Linked DNA regions of Homo sapiens: region 2 is linked to region 1. The links are contacts of gene promoters, found by promoter capture Hi-C in blood cells and fetal thymus (Javierre and others, 2016). All regions are on one chromosome and are shown on one strand. The core of a region is centred on a gene start or on the middle of the fragment in contact, and the rest is flanking DNA. Distances in the headings are between cores, read along the strand shown. Region 1 holds the start of C3orf70 (chromosome 3 open reading frame 70). Region 2 overlaps VPS8 (VPS8 subunit of CORVET complex).

Evidence for each region. The method cuts DNA at HindIII sites, captures the fragments that hold promoters and counts their contacts. A CHiCAGO score of 5 or more calls a contact.
Region 2: a contact is called between a fragment that was not itself captured here and the fragment with the promoter of C3orf70 in region 1, in 3 of 17 cell types (endothelial precursors, megakaryocytes and erythroblasts). The highest score is 11.4, in endothelial precursors.

The regions. Positions count from the first base shown.
Region 1 is chr3:185,150,714-185,155,666 of GRCh38, forward strand. C3orf70 (chromosome 3 open reading frame 70) reads right to left here and starts at 2,347. Exons shown (of 2, transcript NM_001025266.3): 1 at 1,915-2,347. The coding sequence starts at 2,110. RefSeq lists a silencer at 1,753-1,972 and an enhancer at 2,393-2,532. The HindIII fragment of the contact is 2,735 bases long and covers 1,251-3,985 here.
Region 2 is chr3:184,887,792-184,892,795 of GRCh38, forward strand. The region is part of intron 22 of VPS8 (VPS8 subunit of CORVET complex); the gene reads left to right. Among named protein-coding and RNA genes, the nearest start is that of VPS8, 78 kb to the left of the region's middle. The HindIII fragment of the contact is 3,047 bases long and covers 1,263-4,309 here.

The sequences.
Region 1 (4,953 bases), core at 1,097-3,596:
CACAACTGGAATATTGTCTACCTTTCTAGGGGCCACAGTCTTCAAAGGATCAAAACCACCTTGGCACATGTTCAGAAGAGAACAACCAAGATGCTTAGGAGCCTGAATACTATTCCATAAAAGGAAAGGCAGAAGGGACTGGAAATGTATAAATAGGACAAAGAAATGCCTTAAGAGAAAGATGATCACTAGCTTCATTCAGTCATTCAATGAACATTATTGTTAAACCTATTTCAGGAAAGACATTGTGAGAATGGCCAGGGATACAGAGAGAAGACAGTCCATATGTGCAAGACATTCATATGTATATTCAGCAATGTATATATGAAGAGTTGAAACAGCCATGATCTAAAAAAGGATTCAATTGTTCTATATGATTTCATAAGGCAGAAATAGGAGCAGAAGAAAGAAGTTAGAAAGTAACTGATTTCAGCTCCATATAAGGAAGAGTATTTTAAGAGTCAAGGCTAATGAAGGGAGAAGCTGTCTGAGAAAACTGCAAGGTTCCCATCAGTAACGGTGTACTTAGAGAAGACACTGTCAAAATAAGACAGACAGTAACCTGGACTATCTTGAACATTCCTCACATTTTACACAACGATTCTATACTTTCCCACGAAATGAATGAAAGTCCAGATTCTACTTGTGCACTTCAGCATCCCAGGTTTCCTAGAGTTGCTACTTCCAACTCGGTACCCTGTCCCACCGTGAAGCAATGCTTTATACTAACAAAAGAGAACAGATCTGAGCACAACAGGAATAATGAGAAATAGGAAGAAACTGGCCCATAAGCAAATGGAACACCAGAAATCAATACTGTTCTATGTGCCTGGAATTTGTAAAGAAAATGATCCTCTATCCTTGAATTCATAAATTCGATTTAAAATATTCATTTATGTTCGATTAATGTAAATAAGGATTTGTTATGTACTGCATTCCTGGTTGTCAGCTATTTTTTTCTCAACAAAGAAAAATTCATTTTAACTTAAGATCACTTGGAAAATGTCCTAAATAAGCACTCCAAAACCCTCTATTACAAATATATGTGGAAACTAACTTTAGAATATATTTCTTAAAATGAATGATTCATCGGATATAGTCCAAATACTATTAGCTAATCAAATTGTGAAATTCTAATTAAATGGCTACTTAAGTTTAATCTATTTAAAAATCACAGGCAGGAGGCTAAACACAGAGAAAGGGTTTAGACCATTTGGTTCTAGCTTTTATAAATTGGTTTAAGACTATTAAGCTTACTTTCACTCATTTTATTTTGTAATTTTATAAGTCTCATTTATTTGGCTCTAAATTCTACATCTGGGTATTTAAGGAGCTCGACCTTCCAAACTGTTAATATTAACTTCTTGGAAGCAATCCCTCCCACATTAGCGCTTTTTCTCAATTTGGGTACAATCAAGGGGGAAACAATTGGATATCCAAGGGCTCCTTCTTTTAAATAGCAGCCCAGGAAGACAAAAGTGAGAAAGAAAAAGAGGAGCATCTTTAACCAGCAACCTTGAAAAAAGGCATCCCCAACAGCTGTCGCCAACTCAGCTGGCTCGCTCCCATTTCTCAAAACACCGCCTGGACGCCTTGGTCAAAAAAAGAAAAAGAAAAGAAAAAAAACCAGATTCCCGCTTCCCTGGGACAGGGAGCTCCCTTTTGTAGAAGTAGCTAAAGAAAGCGAGGCGCCCCACGGGATTTCATCTCGTCGTCAAGGCAGCGCCAACCCCAGCCGTCCGGCGCAAGGAAAGCTCCGGCGGGCCCGGAGCCCACGGCGGCCCCAGCCTCCGGCAGAGCAGCCCCGGCAGAGCCCGGAGCCCCGCGGCCGCAGAGTTCCGGCAGCGACCCCGGACGGCCCGGCGGGCGTCCCCCGGACCGCGGCGGAAGGCGGGAAGACGCGGCTCGACTTACAGTGACACCATCCTAGGTGACAGCACCAGTGCAGCTTGAAGCACTTGCCATGGCTGTGCGTGGCACAGATAGACAGCCCGTCGCACGGCTGGAAGTCGGGTCTGCGGGCGGCGCAACTCCGCGCCAGGGCCTGAGCCTCATCTAGTTTCTCGCTCTTCCAACCCCGCTCCGACGCCGGCGAGGCCGCCGCACTCATTTCCTCTCCCTCCGCGCGGAGCCGACACCGGGAGCCCGGGAGAAGCGACGTCTGGGTGGGCAGGAAGCCGAGCCGGCTGCGGACGCGGGAGGGCGCGGCACGGGCCGGGAGTCACGCCAGCACGCGGCGGCGGCGGGAGCGCGGCGGTCCCAGGCTCGAGGAGGAGCCGCCCCGGGCGCTGCGACCGGGTCCGGGCTGGCAGCCTCCCTCCCTCCGGCGCGGCGCGCGCCGCGCCCCACGCGCACACGCACGCGCACAGGCGCGCGCCGGTCGGCCCCGCGCGACGTTCCTCAGCGAGCCCGGCCTTCTCACACACACGCCGCTGGGGAGCTTGGCCGTCGGCGTCCCCGCCGGTCACAGCGAGGTCCTCCTCACATACTCACTCCTTCCTCGGAGAAAGACCCCGACGGAGGGCCGTGGTGAACACACACTCCTCGGCCGCTTTGTACTCACATGCACGCCAGCCTACATATGCACTTCCCCCCGAGTGACACTGGCCACCGAGAACTGACACACGCGTCCACACGCTCCACGGAGGGCTGCGCACACCTGGCCCACGCCCACCCGAACCTCCTAGTGGCCCGGGCCGGGTGCATCGCGTAGCGAGGATCTCACACACACAGCCTGTCCCCACAGGCGTCTCACATCTCCCTCGTACACACCTCCCCGTGTCTGGGCATGGAGCCCCTGGGAGGCGCGCACACGCTCGTGCACACGCGCGCACTCCCCCCACCCAGGGCGGGCCTCCTGCCCCAGCGCGGCCACAGGGCGCGTCAGGGGCCAGCACCGCCAACCCCTGCCCGCCTCGCCCCAAACCCCAGGCCAGTGCGCCCGGGCCTTCCCGCGCCCGCCCCAACCTTCGCCGGGACCGCAGCCCCTCCCCCTTCTCCTCCCACCCCCGCCTCCGTTGAGCGGGAAAGCAACAAAGCTGGGTGCATTGATGTGTGTGTGTGTCTGCGTATGTGTAGTTTGGTGTGCATGGGATGTGTGTGTTGCGTGCGTGTGTATGATTATTTGGAGTATGTATGGTGGGTATGCGTGTGTGGTTGTGTGTGGTTAGGTGTGTTCATGGTACATGGTGGGTGGTATGCGTGATGCAAGTGACTGGTGAGGTGTGTGTATACGTGTGTATGTGAAATGAATGTTATAACTGAGGTGGAGTGTGGGTGGTGTGTGTGTGGTTGAGTGTGTGTGGCGTGCAGAATATGTATATGTGTGTAGTTGGACGTGCATGTGCTTGTGCACGTGTTGTGGGGGTGGGTATGCTTAGTAATACAGAGTGGTGTGTGTATGGTATATGTGTGGCAGTGCAGTGCGTGTATCTGGCATGTCGAGTGTGCACATGGCATATACGGATCAAATCGGGTGTGTGTGGTACATAGGAGTGGGTGGGCACACAAACAGGACTCATGTATGCGGAGGACTCTGCCTTTCTGTGTTAGCGCCTGCTCTGGCCAGCAGGTGTGACTGACCCTGTGGTGGCTGCGGCTTCCCCACACAGTTGGCTCGCACTCTTCCCTCCTGGGGACAAGTTGCTCCAAATAGATTTTCCATGCCAGGCTCTGCTGCTGAGAACCGACCCCAGGCTGGATTCACTGAAGAGGAAACAAACCATTTGCTCCCATGGTGCACTGCTGGGAATTAGTGTTTCCCTGCAACAAGGCCAGAACCCAGCCTTGAACACAGAAGAGGAGGGGACACCCCCTCCTTATTTGCCAAACGCACAGAAGAATGCTTGTTCAAGGAACAAGGCTTTCAGCACAAACACTGTGTGGGAACATGTTTATGCCCAGGTCCACTTTCTCCTTTATGCCTTTCCTGCTTTGCACTGACAAGAGACTCATCATGGTTTTGAAACAACCAAATTCATCCTCAAGCTTGAAAATCCTTGCTGCCATAAGCAATCTTTCATAATTTTCCCTTTTATGTAACCTTGGCTTGAGAAGGGAAATGTAATTTGCATATATCTGACTCTGGTGAAATCTTCATTTATTAGGGATTGGGGAGAGACTCAATTTGGCAGCAAAAGTATTTTCCAGAAAGGTCTGAATCAAAATCACAAACTCTAGTTCCCCCATTAACCTAACATTGAAACAGTTGCAAACATGAAGAATCATCTCATCAGCTTCCACCCCAACTGCTCCCCGCCTCAAAAAAATCCTAAAGGAATACATCTCTGACACAAAATCTATGCACCCCTGCTGTTAACTTCACAGTCTGACCTACCTCAGAATAACGGAAGTAAAAGGCAGAGAAATCTTAATCAAAGAAATCCATACTCCATTATTACTGCAGCAAGCCAACCAACAATTTTTCAAAGGGGACTTTCCATCTGTTCTACCCTATTTTTCTCTTTCTCCAACCTATAACTCACTCTAATACTGCCCCTATCATAGAAGGCCTTATGACGGCATCCTCTCTGTATTTCAGTAACTAATACTTGTATGGGATCCTTCCCCTGACTTTTACCCCAGGGTGAACCATGTGGTAAGATTCCACAATATATGAAATAAACCATCTCAGCTAGTAAAAAATGAGCATGAGAAAGCATGCAATATAGCACTTTAGCTAGGAGGCAAGATGAATTATCCAAACACCTTATTTTAGGTTAGACACGTGATTTGAAGTTGAGAAGCCTTTACATTTTCTGTACCATGAAACTCATTCCATCACCTTGCCCTAAAGACGTTATTGATTTCTACTGTCTGGTGTGGAGCGGGAGGAGGTAATTGCTGTGACCTCTCAAATATATACACACAGCTTTCAGGATGTGTTGTTGGGATACGATTTTTAAATTTTTTATTATGAAACTTTCCAAAATATACAAACATAGAGAGATGAAG
Region 2 (5,004 bases), core at 1,536-4,035, 260 kb before region 1:
GTCATACTTTGAAGCATCAGTAAAGATTGTCAAGAGGGCAGTAATTTGCTATGTCAGACCTTTGATGAAGTCATAGATAGCTATATAGTAAGTTCTGCTTACTTGGGGCTCAAATTTATTCCAGTGTTTTAACTCTAGTGTTACGTAATTAGCAAAACACATCGTGTTTACAGTAGGGATCTTGTTGAGAACATTACTTTTTTTTTTTTTTTTGGAGACAGAATCTCGCTCTGTCGCCCAGGCTGGAGTGCAGTGGCGTGATCTCAGCTCACTGCAAGCTCTGCCTCCTGGGTTCACGCCATTCTCCTGCCTCAGCCTCCCAGGTAGCTGGGACTACAGGCGCCCGCCACCATGCCCGGCTAATTTTTTGTATTTTTAGTAGAGACAGGGTTTCACCGTGTTAGCCAGGATGGTCTGGATCTCCTGACCTTCATGATCCACCCGCCTCAGCCTCTCAGAGTGCTGGGATTACAGGCATGAGCCGCCGCACCCGGCCAAGAACATTACTTTATATTACACATGGTCTGCTTTATGAGGGCCTACGGGAGAAATTTCTTTCCGGTGTTAGGGCCACAAATACCTTTGTGTCTCTTGAATAGCTAGTTGACTTTTAGCTGATGGACAGTGATTGTGTAGTTAATCATTGTTTCCTAGAAAGCAAAGCGCCATGATATGTCTGCTAACCTGACCCTATCTTTTTCTAAATTAGTTTTCTCTTTACCTCACTTTCACACTCAATTCCTTGTTATATGTCCTGTATTTTTAAAGCAGCCTTAATAGGTTATGAATCAGTTTTACATATTCTACTTAACCCTCATAAATACAGTGTAAAGAGAGAAAATGTTATCCTCATTTTCAGATGAGGAAGTGGAGGTGTAGAGGTATTTCTAGTACTAATAAGTACTGGAATCAACTCTGATATTCAAATTGAGATAATTTATAAATGAGATGAAGTGAAGTGCCTGAAGGACTAAATTTTATTTAGAGTAAAACGGCTTATTTTTATAAAATGGACTATTTCTACCTAGAATGATACCTGACACAATATAGCTATCCAATACCTGATGGTTGAACTGATGAAGTAATTCTGCCTCCTGGTTTGCAGGGTGACTTGTGATCATTATCTTGAATACTAGAATACTGTCACAGTGACATAAAGTTGAAGTGGGCCTAACAGTTGTAAGATGAAAGATTATATAGGGAAAAAAATTGATTATGTTTTTCCAGAATATTTTGTTATTCCCTAAAATATTCTGGAGATAAGCTTTTCTTTTTTATATGATTTGGAAAGGAAATATTCTCTAACATTTATTTCACCTATTGACTGTCTGAGAATGCAATAATTTCTGTATTGAACCACAGCATATAACATAGAAGATAAAATCTGGTCTAGATTTTCACCAAATTAGGATCCATTTATTATTTCTTTATTTTTGTCAACTTCTTTCCTATAATTTTTCCTGATTCCTTAGCATGCTTTCTCTGTATTGTGTCAGAAACAAATACAATATTTGTTGTTGGAGATCTCAGAAATAACAGGAACAGCAGTCATAGTATATACTCCTCACCTCCAAGAGGAAGAGAATCCTTCCTCAGTTCAGCTCTTCCTGGTGCTTTTCATACCTCTTTTCTTTCTTCCTCCTCCTGCTCTTACATACACACTCTTAGGTCAAGGCCATGGACATTTTCCCTGGACCATAGTACAAAGAGCGTATGGATGGCTTCCCTTTCTCTCAATTCTGTTTTCTAACACCGAAGACTAGATTGTACTAGATCCTGCCTCTGCTTGGGAGAAGTTCCAGCATGTGTGTTCTTATTGTCTTTCTTTCCCTCCTTGTCTCTTTCCCTAATTCTACTCTTTGGGTTCTATTCTAATAGGAGAAAAAGCGGGAGGGCAGCATTCCTAGAGATGTAAGAAAGGTCGGGGCTGTGAAACTAGGCATTGGGTCAAACGCTCCCTCTTTTGTTCTAGGTCTGTGTTGTGCTTGTTTGCTTCTCACCATACTGGCTTTTCTTTTTCATCAGAATGTTAAGATTCTTCTATATATGGGCCTGAACTTAGAAGGAAAGATTGAATAAGCCGTTTGATCAACTTTAATTGTTTGCATCTAGGCCATCTTTCACTTCCCTTCTATTTCAAACATGCAATGACTAAAGATTTATTAGATACAAGAATTCTATGTTTAATTAAATAGTTCAGTCTAACCACTTAAATGGTAGAGTTTTAAAAATTTTTTTCTTAGAGTTGCCATAGATAATAAGGTTAAAAATGGTCAGTTCCCTATGCTAAATTGTAGCGGAGGATTGTCAGATGTAAGTAGCTTCATCCCAGCATAGTATTTTTTCTCCTTAAACTGGATCCTCTCTTTATACTATCCTTTTTGACATTTGGTCCTATTTATGTCTAAGGTCTTCTCTTCTGCATTTCCAAATTAGCAAAATATCTGTGACATTAACATTGCTTTAAGGAATGCTCAGATTTTGCATAATACAAACACAGTCTTACAAAATGTCATCTAGTACTCAGCTAGCCAATTTCAGGTAACTTCTTCCACTTCTAGATTCATTACTCACTCAATCCTGTTCCCCAGATTCCTTTTATATTAATGTCTTCTGATTGAGTATGTTGTTTTTATAGGCAGTCCTTTTATTTTCACATATTATATTGTTTCTTAGGTGGGTGAAATTATAAACATAATACATGCTCTGAAATTAATTTTAACTTAGTGGCACAACCATTATTACACTATAATCACTGTTACCTCATAGTTTCATAACTCAGATAATTCAGTACCCATCAGTAATATTAATTAAGCTAGTGGATATATGTATTCCTATTTATATTTAATAACACTTTTATAATGTAAAATCATTTTTACTATGTCACAGTAATCACATTTGTTTTTCTCTGTAGGGCATACTACTCAGTGTATTATGGACATCTTTCTTGGTTAAAATTTGGCATTAGAGTCTTTTGTAAATTACTTAATATCAGAAATGACAGGAATTCTGTTTTTGAAGACTTATACTTTATTTTCATAATTTGGTCTCTGTTCCACAATTTCATTTCAATTTGGTTTTGTGTATTTTTTTTTCAGTATTAGACAAAAGACACAATGTCTTAAGGCTTTTTGTGAATACTTCTGATTTGTCATTTTACCTATGCAAAATATAGGCTATATGTTAGCATATATATGGGTAGCCCTAATGTCAGTTTTACTTTGAAAATAGATCCAGAGTTTATGTAAACCATAATTATAATTTTGAACGTTGTTTAAAAATAGGGTTATGTGATTATATGTGAATTATATAGCAATAAAGCAGTTATTTTAAAAAAAAGCAAAATGGGTGCTCTATATGGATGATACCGACGACTTTGAGTTTATATCACTGTAAGGAATATCCACAGTTGTTAAGAAGCCATCGTTCCAATGGCTTGTGTTATGTATGCATCTGAACCAAAAATGTTTCTGTTAAATCCAAAGTGAACTTGAAGTAGTCTTTTAATTTGTTCACTCATGTTGTTCAACATCAGGACTATTGTTTGAGAAACAAAAAGATCTTAATTATCAAGACTTGTTGAGGAACTGGATGTTTAAAATTTTATTAGGGTGGTGCAAAAGTAATTGCAAATTTCATCATTAAAAGTAATGGCAAAAACTGCAATTACTTTTGTACCAACCTAATATCAAAGCTGGGGGAAAAAAGGCGTTTTTAATTTTATAATAGCTATATTGAGATATAATTCACATACCATAAAATTCACCCTTTTAAAGTATACAATTCAGTAGTTTTTAGTGTATTCACAGCTGTGTAAGTATCACCACATGCCTTTTTAAAGGAAATCTTTACGAACTGTGGTACTTGTATCAAAAAATAGAGCATTTTGAACATAATTTGTTAAAATTCATTTGAATTTTGCTTTTGCTTTTATAAATAAGGAAACCAGCCCACATCAACTTTGGATATATTAAATACCACTTGTATTTGGTGGGAATTTACTTGTTTGGTTCTGGTTATATATTTAGTATGGATTGGCAAGGGTTAGGATTGATGCCCTTGTTCCCCTTCACATACTTCTAAATTTGTAATTTCTTATAACCAAAGCAGCTCTTCACATTTAAAAAATTATGAAATCGATAATGTACAAAGTAAATTTAACAGTTGTCCTCTTTTTGAAGTTATAAATGATAAACTTCAAAAATACCTTTAATGTGAGTACTGTTATAAAGTGAAGTTTGTAGAAATATCTCTTTGGTCCTCTATTATTCATGATCGATTTTCTGTTACACTGGCCATAGGGAGGCTAAGCTTGAAATGGTAAACATCAATTTTGAAGTCAGCCCTTCTAGGAAACAAAGATAGCACCCTGGAGAATAGTGCCTAAATATAGAAAAAAATATGAGAGCTACAAATTTTTGTATGTACTTGTCTTTTTTTTAATTTTATTTTGAGATAGAGTTTCGCTCAGTTGCCCAGGCTGGAGTCGATCTCGGCTCACTGCAACCTCTGTCTCCTGGGTTCAAGCAATTCTCCTGCCTCAGCCTCCTGAGTAGCCAGGATTACAGGCGCGTGCCACCATACGCAGCTAATTTTTGTATTTTTAGTAGAGACGGGGTTTCCCCAGGTTGGCCAGGCTGGTGTCAAACTCCTGACCTCAAGTGATCTGCCTGCCTTGGCCTCCCGAAGAGCTGGGATTACAGGCATGAGCCACTGCACCCGGCCTAGCCTGTATGTACTTTTCTATCTCCCCTCTTTCCTGATGCACTAATAAGTATTCTCCCAGAATGATGAGAATTTGTCGTTGAATATAAAAAAAATTTTATTTTAAGGTAGAGATGCAAATAGGAGTTGCTGAGCCTTATTTTTCTTGCTTCTTTATATTATAGCTTCTGATTGGTTAAGAAAGAAACGTGTGGTTTTGCATTTATCTTAGCAGCATCACATGCTGTTTGTAAACAGGAGTGCCTTCTTAGTTAACTTTTGTAGCCTTTACTGAATTTT